4 separate regions of the Homo sapiens genome follow, and regions 1, 2 and 3 are each linked to region 4. The links are contacts of gene promoters, found by promoter capture Hi-C in blood cells and fetal thymus (Javierre and others, 2016). All regions are on one chromosome and are shown on one strand. Each heading gives the region's core, a stretch centred on a gene start or on the middle of the fragment in contact. The rest is flanking DNA. Distances are from core to core; before and after follow the strand shown.

Region 1 (2,700 bases), core at 138-2,637, 2.2 Mb after region 4:
AATTCATACAGATAACTATATCCTACCACCTCTGTTACTCTCCTGAAAGAAGACAAGCAAAATTTGCAAATTTGGAGAGAAGTAATCATCATCAAATCTCTATGCATTCTGCTAAGAGCCATTTTTTGCCAATGTTGGGATATCGCAAATGATACTGCAATGTTATCACTACAGAAGTTAGTTATACATGTTACCATGTAATTTATGCCAGCCATTGCTGCTTACCTGCTGTAACAATGCTGACTGCGCAGCCGCATTATGCTGTAATTCTTGCAAGGATGATTGTGAAGGATTCTGAGGAAACCCAGGGATACCCGGGAGGGACAAAAGGCCTGGAAAAACAGAACTGCCTGCAGCTTGAAGTCCAGATGATAAACTAAAACAATTGACAGAAAAACAAGTTAACTGCAGACAAGACATAAAAGCTACTGTTTCCATATTTGTCAAATACAATCTTAAAATGTTAAAAACAAAACAAAAACCTTAGAATTTATTCCTCTGTTGGAAGGACCATAAAAATCAGCCATTCCCTGATATGAATCTTTCTACTGTGAAGTATATTATTCGAAATTCAGTAAGTCTGTTTTGCATATAATCCTTTCTGCTGTCTTATAAATAAAACTATCAAATACAAATCCAAACATTGTATCAACAGGCATTAATATTTTATACATTTATCTTAACATGGTTCATAAAACATTTCAGAGTGCTAAAGTTTTCACCCAGAAAAACATCATTTAGATTTTGACATTCATTTTGATGACTTGAAATGAAATGTGAACTACAAGTTAGGTGAAGAATAATTTTATCCTATTTCCAAACTATCCACATACCCGGCTTGTGCAACAAGAGCGGAGTTGAAATTGGAACTGAATGCTGAGGCGAATCCTGGGAGGACTGGAGCTGGGGATGGGGCTGTGGCAGCCACAGGTAGTGGTGTGACAGCTGCGACTGTAGAGGGCGCCTGCAGCCCCGGGAATGAGGGAAGAGCAGGGGTAACGCTTGGGGTATTAGAGACAGAAAAGCCTGGATAGGAGGGATTTGAAGATGACAGAGGTCCTTGAGTAACAGAGAAAAGTGAGGGAACAGCAGTGGACAGGTTGAGGGGGAAAGGTGCTGCTGAGACTGGTGCTGAAGCAGAAAGCCCTGAGAGAACAGCTGCCGTTGAGCTAGGATGAGGGAGAGATGTGGAGGTGGCAGCGGTAGATGAGGTGGCTATTAATGACCCTGGGAGAGATACTGACGGATTAAGAGATGGGTTGCCAGTTAAAGGAAAATTGTTGGTCAAAGAAGTAAAAGAAGGAAGAGCAGTGAATACTGGTGCAATGGGAGTGGAGGAACCATGTGGTGGAAGGGAAATAGAGGAAAGAGGATTTGAACCATTTAAAGGAGTACTCAAGCTGGAGAGACCTGACAATGCAGGATTAAGGCAAGCAGATAAACTGATGGGCACGGATGTTGAAGTATATGCACGGCCCAATGTCCCTGACAAACCTAAAGTGCCATGAGAGGGATTCCCAGAATGAGATGGACCTTTGAAGGCCGAGGGAGTAGGACTTGTGGGCTCAGTTTTGATCATAACAGGAAGAGTTGTTGCAGCAGGGGTAGATGAAATATGCAGATCTGAGGTACCTGGGTGGGGGCCACGCAAAAGGGAGGCTGAGGAGCCACAGCTAACTGGCACTGACGTGGAAGCTGATGCAGCAGTGGCTAAAGGAGACTGTACAGGCAATGTCAGGGGAGTGGAAGTTGAGTTAGCCACGGGAGACGGCAGGCCTGGGAACAGGGCCAACCCTGGAGTGGAAGTCCTCTGTGGGGTAGGGATGGCTGATGGGGCATAGCACTTGTTAGGGGCTGAAGCAGAAGAGTCAGAGTTCTGAAGAGTAAGAGAAGATAGTGAAGCCAGCCCACTTGTGACAGCAGAGGATAAAGCAGAGGAGTTGATTAAATTGGTGTCATTGGATGTCAGAAAACCTTTTAACGCAGACAAAAGAGGACTGTTCACACCAAGTGGACCGGCAACGCTGGGAGTAGAGCCACCAGCAATTACAGGAGTCGGGTTGGATAGGCCTTGGGATGTTGGTGGTAAGGGCAAAGGGAGCCCTGCAAAAACTGATGACAATGAAGCAGAATTTGGGTTGCTGGTAGAAGCAGCAGAAGAGCTGGTGGAAAAGGGGAGGCTAGTGAAAGGTGCAGAAGTAGAAGCAAATGCTTCACTGGAACCAAGAGTGGACCGTGGTGTAGGTCCTGGGGTAGGAGTGGCTGCGGTAGGAGTGGCAGAAGGACCTGGCAGTGACACTAGGCCAGAAAAAATGGAAGGAACAGGAGTGGTGGTTGTACTGTGGATGGATGTAACAGGTGCAGTGGGCAATGAAGGGGTTCTGATAACTGTTGGGTTTGGTATTGATGGCTGAGGTGTGTGAACGGCTGAGGAGACCTGCCCTGGGAACACAGGAAGGACAGTATTCAGCAGGTTCATTCCAGAAACGGTGGCAGCTGCTGATGCTGATGGATGATTAATTGCCTTGACTGGGGATGCAGTAGGAACAGGAGTTGCAGCAGGTGTTGAAGGATTAGAACCATGAGGAGAAAAGAGTTGACTTGCTGGGGTGGAAAATGCTATATGGAAGGGGGAAAAAAGGCAAGAATGTATCATCATGCTGAAACGTCAAATTTTGAATTAAAAAGCATAACCATTTT
Region 2 (2,700 bases), core at 72-2,571, 2.8 Mb after region 4:
GGCCTCCCAAGATGTTGGAATAATAAGCATTAGCCACCACGCCTGGCTGAACCCTTTAGCTAAACGCCAACTTAGGTGGTAGCTGGCTGTGTTATCTGAGTTAGCCATATATCCTTGGAAAGGTTTCTTTAGTCTTGGATTACTCATCAAGAGGAGTACTAATTACATGATAATGTAATGATCCTTATGTTTCAGGGTAGCTGTGAAGATAAAAATAGTGTATAATAAATTCTAGCACAGAGCCTGATTTTCAATAAACATAGTTGCTAAATAACGGGAGCTACTATTATCAACACAATGAAAGATGTCGAAGGCTGAAAATTCTATGACTCACTAGACATAGCCGTAATAAATGCCATATTATATTTTGATGAAGCCACAGTAACCAATACAAAGTGACTTCCTCTTATTTCAGAAGCCAAAGGGCAAGAAAGCTTAACCATCTAAAGCAATGGTGTCCAATCTTTTGGCTTCCCTGGACCACACATAAAATACACTAACACTAATGATAGCTGAAGCTCTAAAAAAATTGCAAAAAATCCATAATGTTTTCAGTGAGTTTACAAATTTGTGTTGGGCAGAATTCAAAGTTGTCCTGGGCCATATCCATGCAGTCTGTGGGCCTCAGGTTGGACGAGCTTGATCTAAAGGAGAGGAATAGGAACTTGGAGAGGCCCTCCTTTCAACCTTTTCTTTTTTTTCTTTCTTTTCTTTGTTTTTTTTTTTTTGTTTGTTTGTTTTTAGATGGAGTCTTGCTCTGTCGCCCAGGCTGGAGTGCAGTGGTGTAATCTCGGCTCACTGCAACCTCCGCCTCCCAGGTTCAAGCAATTCTCCTGCCTCAGCCTCCCTGGTGACTGAGATTACAGGTGCGCACCACCATGTCTGGCTAATTTTTGTATTTTTAGTAGAGACAGGGTTTTACCATGTTGGCCTCGAACTCTTGACCTCAGGTGATCTGCCCACCTTGGCCTCCCAAAGTGCTGGAGTTACAAGGGTGAGCCACCACATCTGGCCTCAATCATTTCTTAGAAGGTAAGAATCTCCACATTTCAGTCTACTGCATGGTTCTTCTGTCATTTTCTTTTAAATCCTTTGCTCTTTTACATGCGTGTATTTGTTCTCCTATTAAATTGAAATGTTTAGGTCAAAGCATATCTTTTAATTATTTTAATGTTCTACTACTTTATGGAGCTTACTATAAACAATTATCTTTCACATTTTCACTAAAAAACGTTACTTTCAAAAATATATGGATACATACACACACACGTATCTGATGAGGCACACCTGAAAATTTATTTTAACTCTTGACAAATATTGATTTTAAGCTCTTAACAATTTATAATTAACCTCATAAAAACATACTTAAGTAAGCATTTAAAACATAAAATAATTTCCCTGTTTTCATGCTACCACATATTATTTTAATTCATGAATTATCTCATTTACTTTTTTACAATTGTTAATTCAGAGAATTAGAAATAAACAAGAAAAGTGGGTCATGGTTACTCTACCTTAATAACCTCTGTTAATATATTTAGTAATACATGAATAAGACTAGACAATTTCAATCAGTTTAGAAAGGTACAAAATGGAAAATGGAAGCCTTCCTTCCACTGGAATGCCATCCTGAAAAAAAATCTAAATTTATATGTATCTCTCCATTTCGTGCACGTAAGTGATCTCATCATACATACATAATATAGCTTGCTTTTTCACAGAGTATATTGTGGAATTATTTCCATGTTAGCATTTAAATCTCCTTCATAGCAGATAACACTTGCATAGTATTCTGCTGAATGAATGAGTGCATGATAGTTTATTTGTTCAGTCCTGTATTGATAGACACTCTGGTTGTCTCTCTTTCCTCCTCCCTCCCTTAGTCTCTCCTTCCTTCCATCCTTTCTTTCTCTCTCTCTCTCTTTCTGCTTTTCTCCCTTCCTTCCTTCCTTTCTCTTTCTTTCTCTCTCTATCTCTATTTTTCTCTCTATTACAAACCATGGTAGATAAATATCTTTGTTCATATACTGTGGGAAGTTTTTGCATTATATCCATAGTAAATGCCTAACAGGAAGAGTGCCATGTTATGAGGACACTCAGATAGCCCTGTGGGAGGGACCATTTGGTGAGAAATTGAGCCTCATTTTAGTAAGTAGCATATGCCAGCCATGTGAGTGAGCCACCTCGAAGTGAATCCTCCAGCACCAATTAAGCTTTCAGATGACTGCAGTCCTAGGTAATATCTGATTGCAGCTTCATGAGAGACCCTGAGCCTAAACCGCCTAGCCAAGTCACTCTTGATTTCCTGACTGACAGAAGTTATGATTTTTTTTAATATACTAGTTTTGGGGAAATATGTTAAGCAATATCAGATAACTAAAATACTTACGGCTTGGAACAGTGGTTGTCAACCCCGGACAATTTTGCCCCTCAGGGACATTGGCAATGTCTGGAGACATTTTGATCGTTCCAACTGGGGAGGATGCTACTGGCATTTAGTAGGTAGAGGCCAGTAATGCTGCTAAACATCCTACAGTGAACAGAATAGTTCCCAACAACAACAAAATATGCAGCCCCAAATGTCAATGGTGCCAAAGTTAAGAAATCCTGAATCCTAGAATAACTTAAATAACATTGGAATCAATTTTTTTTTTTTAAAACATAAGGTCTCACTCTGTCGACCAGGCTGGTGTGCAGTGG
Region 3 (2,700 bases), core at 170-2,669, 2.8 Mb after region 4:
GTTCTTCATTCTTAACTTGTTTTTCCAGTGCTTCTGTTGCACTAAAAAGCATCATGAACTATTAAGTTCCTTTGTCAGTATCTGGATACCTTTTTCTTTCTTGTAAGCCTTAGCATTATGTGTATATTAAGAACTGAGTGTGTTCCTCCAGTGGATGAGCCTTGAAACATCTACGTATTTCATTTTATTGTGCTTTTGAGTTCCATAGAGTGATCTCATTTGTTTTAAGTCTAAATTGCAGTAAGTGGTAGTATTTGTTTTCTGAAATATAATAAAATTGGAATTTACTTATATTAGATATGTTTATAATTTTAGGCAGCAAAGGAACAGACTCAAGATTTAATAGTAAAAACCACTAAGCTTCAATCTGAAAGGTAAGTTTTTCTTCATACAACCACCTTTTCAATAATTTGGAGATTGGAGTCAAAGAAAATTATATATAACTCCAAATCAGAATTAAAGCAGAATAATAAAAAACATGGTTCATAAGGTCCTAAACTATTATATTACCCAATAGTAACTTAAGCATAAAGACAGTAGTTTAGGAGCAATAAACTTGACATTGAGGTTGAGAGATTATTCCTTCTTTGGAAGAGAGGTGATGATGTATCGTTATTGTTTGCTGTGGAGTTCAGAAATGATGCTTTTTAAAATGTAAATGTTTTCAGATTTTTAATAGTTTTATTACTTTTTTTTCACAATCATTGTCTTTTATTTTTAAGCTATGATATATCCTCTCTGGTATAATTAAGAGTTAATTGTATAAATTCTCCTTGTAGTTTATACAATAGGTATACTATTGGTTGATTGAATGAATGAGTGAGTGAGTGAATAAAGGTGAGTACAGTCTGGATTTGTGTAATGTGTGGTGTTCAGTATTGCTAAAACTCATAGCAATTATGCTAAAACTCATTAACTGCATCTCTCATGTGTGGAGTAGTATAGGGGGGGAGAAGCATTATATTATGATGCAGTATACTTGTCTCCTGCTCAGTAGTTGGGTACATCACTTAAACCTTTTAGTATTCTAGGTATTTCATCAGTAATATGGAGATATTACCACTTTAACTGCTGATTTTGGGGTAGGTCAGTATACTATAGTATAGACCACAGGTTATCAAACTATGGCCACAGGCCAAATCCAGCTCAACACCTGCTTTTGTAAATGCAGCTTTATTGGAACACAGCTATGGTTGTGTTTACATACTGTCTATGGCTGCTTTTACCCTACTGCAGTAGAGTCGTGTGGTTACAACAGAGACCATATGTGGCCTACAAAGCCTAAAATATGTACTATCAAGATTTTTACAGAAAAAGTCTGTGACTTCTGATCCAACTAGTGTTTTTTTGTAGTTCAGGTCAAGATCAATGGGTTGTAAATTATGATTTATCAATCATTACTACTATTTAAATCGATCATAGCTAGCCTTAAAAAATAAATTAGAATGAAATAAAATAGAAAATAGTTTGGGTAGCTGGGCATGGTGGTGCACACCTGAAGTCCCAGCTATTCTGGAGGTTGAGGTGGGAAGATCATTTGAGCCCAGGAGTTCAAGGTTGCAGTGGGCTATGATAGTGCCACTGCACTCCAGCCTGGGTGACAGAAGGAGATCCTGTCTCTAAAAAATAAATAAGTAAAAATAGTTTGAGTGAATATTATTTTGTGAAGCCTTTCTTTCAGTTTCAGTAATGGTTTTAAATGGTTTAATATTATGGGTCATAATCAAGAGTTTGAAAAACACTGCCCTAGACCAAAAATGGCAAGTACATGACCCCCAACTCCTTAGTTTTACATCCACTGATCTTGACATTCTTTTATTTTGAGCCCTTAATCCTTCTTAACACAATTCTCTTCAGACTAAGATTGATGAATGGGAAATTATAAAGAGTGCAGAGGTGTAAAGTTACTTGTGTAAAAGGATATCATGGGTCTTAGGGCTACAAAGGACTCAGAGATCAACTGGAATGATCCATTGCAGTTAAAATGGTAACCAATGTAACTTACTTTTCTGTCTTATAAAAACATTGAGAAAATGTGACAAAATTAGCAAAATAAAATATATGTACCAATATCATCTAAAAAATACTATCTTTAATAGCACAAAACAAAGAAAACATTTTCTTTACACGTATAGGAAGTACATTATTGGATATTGGAACATGTACCTTATCTTAGACCTGTGGCTTTCAAACCATAGTTCATTGAACCTCAGGGTTTCTTTGCAAGACGTAGAAGGATAATGGAGTTTTGGAGGTCAGATTCTCTCACCCTAATTTTAGTGAGAGCAGTTTCACTTTTACTTGTTTAATATATTAGGATTCCATGTAAGATTTTGTTTGAAAAAAGAGTTTGACAGCAGGAAAATATAAAAATATTGCACAATTTTAAGACTAGTTGAAAGGTAGAATACCAAATAAAATAGTCTTTTGATTTTATTCCTCATGCCAGAGAAAAATCTTTAAAAACAACTAAGTATCAAAGCTTTATAAAAGCTTAATCATAATTTCATGCATTTAATCCCCTTTTTGTTTACTAACTACCTTCTCTTTCACTAAAAATCCACTTTTACCCGTTGTGTGTTTTCTACAAGCCAAAATGAGAGCAAGTTGATGTTGTCCTCAGATTTATAGAATTGCAAATTGCCTGGATAGAAATTAAATTTAGGAAGTCTGGCCTTAAATTCCCTTTTATCTTGTTGA
Region 4 (2,700 bases), core at 117-2,616:
CCTGGTGTAAATACTCCAAAAGTGGCTGATTTCAAGCAATCAACATGACATACTGAAGGCAGAGTTGGGAAAATGTGCAGTAACACACCACTAAATAATATTTCCGCATACAGATACAATAGACATAAATAACCTTAAAAGCACAGATAATGATAAAACATAATAAAATAATTAGAAAATGAAGAGTTTTGAGATTTGTACCCTTTGTTTTTAATATAATCTTATTGTAAGTTTATGTAGTAAGACTTTTAATAATAGCAGTGTTTAATTTTTCTGCTAATTATATTCCTGAAATTTTAGCAACCAGTTACCATCAGTTGGCGCTAGCACACCACCGACTGCAGGCTTTACTGATGAGGAAACTGAGGCTCGGAGAGGCTGTCACGAACTTGCTGTAGTCACACAGGAAGTACTACCTAGGTTGCTCTAATTCCAAACCTTCTCCCTTCCATATGCCTCTCTTTAAAACATAACTGATCTACCTATATGTCAGCACCCAAACATCTTAGTGTGAATGGATTTATAGTTTGTTGAATAAAGTCATTGCTTTCCGGTAGGTGGGATGGGAAATCTGACTAGGCGAAAGAATAGGATGAAGGGAAAAAGAACATCTACTTAACAGTTCAGGATACGGCAGGATATTTTCTCTCCTGGGATTTGGGCAAGCCAAGATTTAACAACCAGCAATTGCCCAGCAACTGATAGAACTGGTAGAACATTCATTGTTTTTTTAAACGTTTGCCATTCAGTATTCCTTTTCACACATTTTCACTGTGTTAAACGAAAACGTTAAGACTTATCTCAGCAGCCACAGCAAAGAGCAAGTACTAACAATCAAGTGAGTTTCCAGGAGAAAAAAAACAAAGTTATCCCTCAATGCAAATACAACTCGGCCAAAGGTGTGGCCCATCCCTCTCCGCTCCACTATTTTCAAATAAGCCACCTCTGCCTTCATGGACTGCGAGCTAGTGACTCTAGGCTGTGACACCACTGCATCCCAGCTTCAAATCTCCCCTTGCAGGCAGTTTGTGGGGGAAATAATAAAATTAGCATCCTAACACTACAAGTCGTGAGACCGCTCAGGAACAATCCTAATTTGCATACTGGAACTCCTGTAGAAGATACTTTGAACCGCTTTAGATACAATAGGATCAGGTAAAACGGCGCTGCCTTGCCAGCCACTGCAGGTTTTCACCTGACACAGCCCCCAGACCCTGTCTACGAATCCCCCAGCTGGCCGAAGGGGCCGCGGCCGCACATGCGCAGTCAGTCCCGTTGGTTGTGCGCTCAGCCCCGCCCCCAGAGGCGCCGCGCTCCCTGACAGCCCGCGGGCGTACACACGCTGACGCGCAGGCTGCGGTCGCGCAGGCGCAGTCGGGGCGCCTTCCCGGTATAGGCGCCTTTTACCCCAGCGTGTCCTGAGTCTTTGGTTCGCGAAGTGCCGTTAGGCCAAGCAGGTGCTAAAAGCCCGGGGTCGTGGACCCCGGCCAGGTCTTAGCAGCATGGAGGCGCAGGGTGTAGCGGAGGGCGCGGGGCCGGGCGCCGCCAGCGGCGTGCCCCACCCCGCGGCCCTAGCCCCGGCTGCGGCTCCCACCTTGGCGCCAGCCTCGGTGGCGGCCGCGGCCTCTCAATTCACCCTGCTAGTGATGCAACCCTGTGCTGGGCAGGACGAGGCTGCGGCCCCCGGGGGCAGCGTTGGGGCGGGCAAGCCCGTTAGGTACCTGTGCGAAGGGGCCGGGGATGGCGAAGAGGAGGCTGGGGAGGACGAGGCGGACCTGTTAGACACTTCGGACCCTCCGGGGGGAGGCGAGAGCGCGGCTAGTTTGGAGGATCTAGAGGACGAGGAGACTCACTCGGGGGGCGAGGGCAGCAGCGGGGGCGCCCGGAGGCGGGGCAGCGGTGGGGGCAGCATGAGCAAGACCTGCACCTACGAAGGCTGCAGCGAGACCACGAGCCAGGTGGCCAAGCAGCGCAAACCGTGGATGTGCAAGAAACACCGCAACAAGATGTACAAGGACAAGTATAAAAAGAAGAAGAGCGACCAGGCCCTGAACTGCGGTGGGACTGCCTCGACTGGCAGCGCGGGAAACGTCAAACTCGAGGTATCAGACTTAGCTGAGGCCTGGGGATGGGAGGTGGAAGAAGAAACCCGATCTTAACGCAAACCGCATCTGCAGGGCCTGCCTCCCCACTTCCAAATGGGCCGGTTTGCAGTGACTGGGTTAGTGGTTGAGAATTAGAGTGTTTGCCCTAAATTAAAGTTTATACCAACATGTGCAAAGCAATAACAGTTCTGTTGAACTCATGATAGGTGCAGAAATTTCAGTAAAAATAATGTGACATCGGCAGAGCTGTCATAGATCTGGGATATGGCTGGAAGGACATAGAGTAAATGATCGGTCTGGTTCATCGCTAAAGGAGACTTAGGAACCTAGATGAAGTTGGTACTTCTGAGAAAGTCATCTCTTTCTGTTTTCACTACTCTATTCTCAGTATCCAGTTCTCAGTACCCAGTTCTCAGTACCTCTATTTGTAATACTCCTGTATTTAGTACTTTGTTTTTAGTGTCCTGTTCTGTTAACCCTCTTCCTAGTACCGTATTTTTAGTACTGCTATACTCAGTTGCCTGTCTGTAGTACCCCTGTACGTAGTACTCTTTTCTTACAACTCTGTTCCCAGTACCCCTATGTTTAGTCCCTT

What was found. Contacts are between HindIII fragments. The CHiCAGO score rates a contact against its expected background, and 5 or more counts as called.
Region 1: a fragment that was not itself captured here is called in contact with the fragment with the promoter of RFXAP in region 4 in 3 of 17 cell types (naive CD8 T cells, activated CD4 T cells and total B cells); the score reaches 8.7 in naive CD8 T cells.
Region 2: a contact is called between a fragment that was not itself captured here and the fragment with the promoter of RFXAP in region 4, in 1 of 17 cell types (total B cells). The highest score is 5.5, in total B cells.
Region 3: a fragment that was not itself captured here is called in contact with the fragment with the promoter of RFXAP in region 4 in 1 of 17 cell types (total CD8 T cells); the score reaches 5.4 in total CD8 T cells.

What each region holds. Positions count from the first base shown.
Region 1 is chr13:39,011,858-39,014,557 of GRCh38, forward strand. PROSER1 (proline and serine rich 1) reads right to left here. Exons shown (of 13, transcript NM_025138.5): 11 at 834-2,619; 12 at 226-376. Among named protein-coding and RNA genes, the nearest start is that of STOML3, 22 kb to the left of the region's middle. The HindIII fragment of the contact is 2,959 bases long and covers 1-2,700 here.
Region 2 is chr13:39,648,311-39,651,010 of GRCh38, forward strand. No RefSeq gene overlaps it. Among named protein-coding and RNA genes, the nearest start is that of COG6, 6.0 kb to the right of the region's middle. The HindIII fragment of the contact is 1,779 bases long and covers 433-2,211 here.
Region 3 is chr13:39,664,781-39,667,480 of GRCh38, forward strand. COG6 (component of oligomeric golgi complex 6) reads left to right here. Exons shown (of 19, transcript NM_020751.3): 4 at 316-374. Among named protein-coding and RNA genes, the nearest start is that of MIR4305, 2.0 kb to the left of the region's middle. The HindIII fragment of the contact is 2,122 bases long and covers 359-2,480 here.
Region 4 is chr13:36,817,856-36,820,555 of GRCh38, forward strand. RFXAP (regulatory factor X associated protein) reads left to right here and starts at 1,367. Exons shown (of 3, transcript NM_000538.4): 1 at 1,367-2,102. The coding sequence starts at 1,503. LOC124903158 (a long non-coding RNA gene) reads right to left here and starts at 1,216. Exons shown (of 2, transcript XR_007063760.1): 1 at 312-1,216. RefSeq lists a silencer at 1,285-1,654 and enhancers at 1,885-1,934, 1,945-2,174. The HindIII fragment of the contact is 8,641 bases long and covers 1-2,700 here.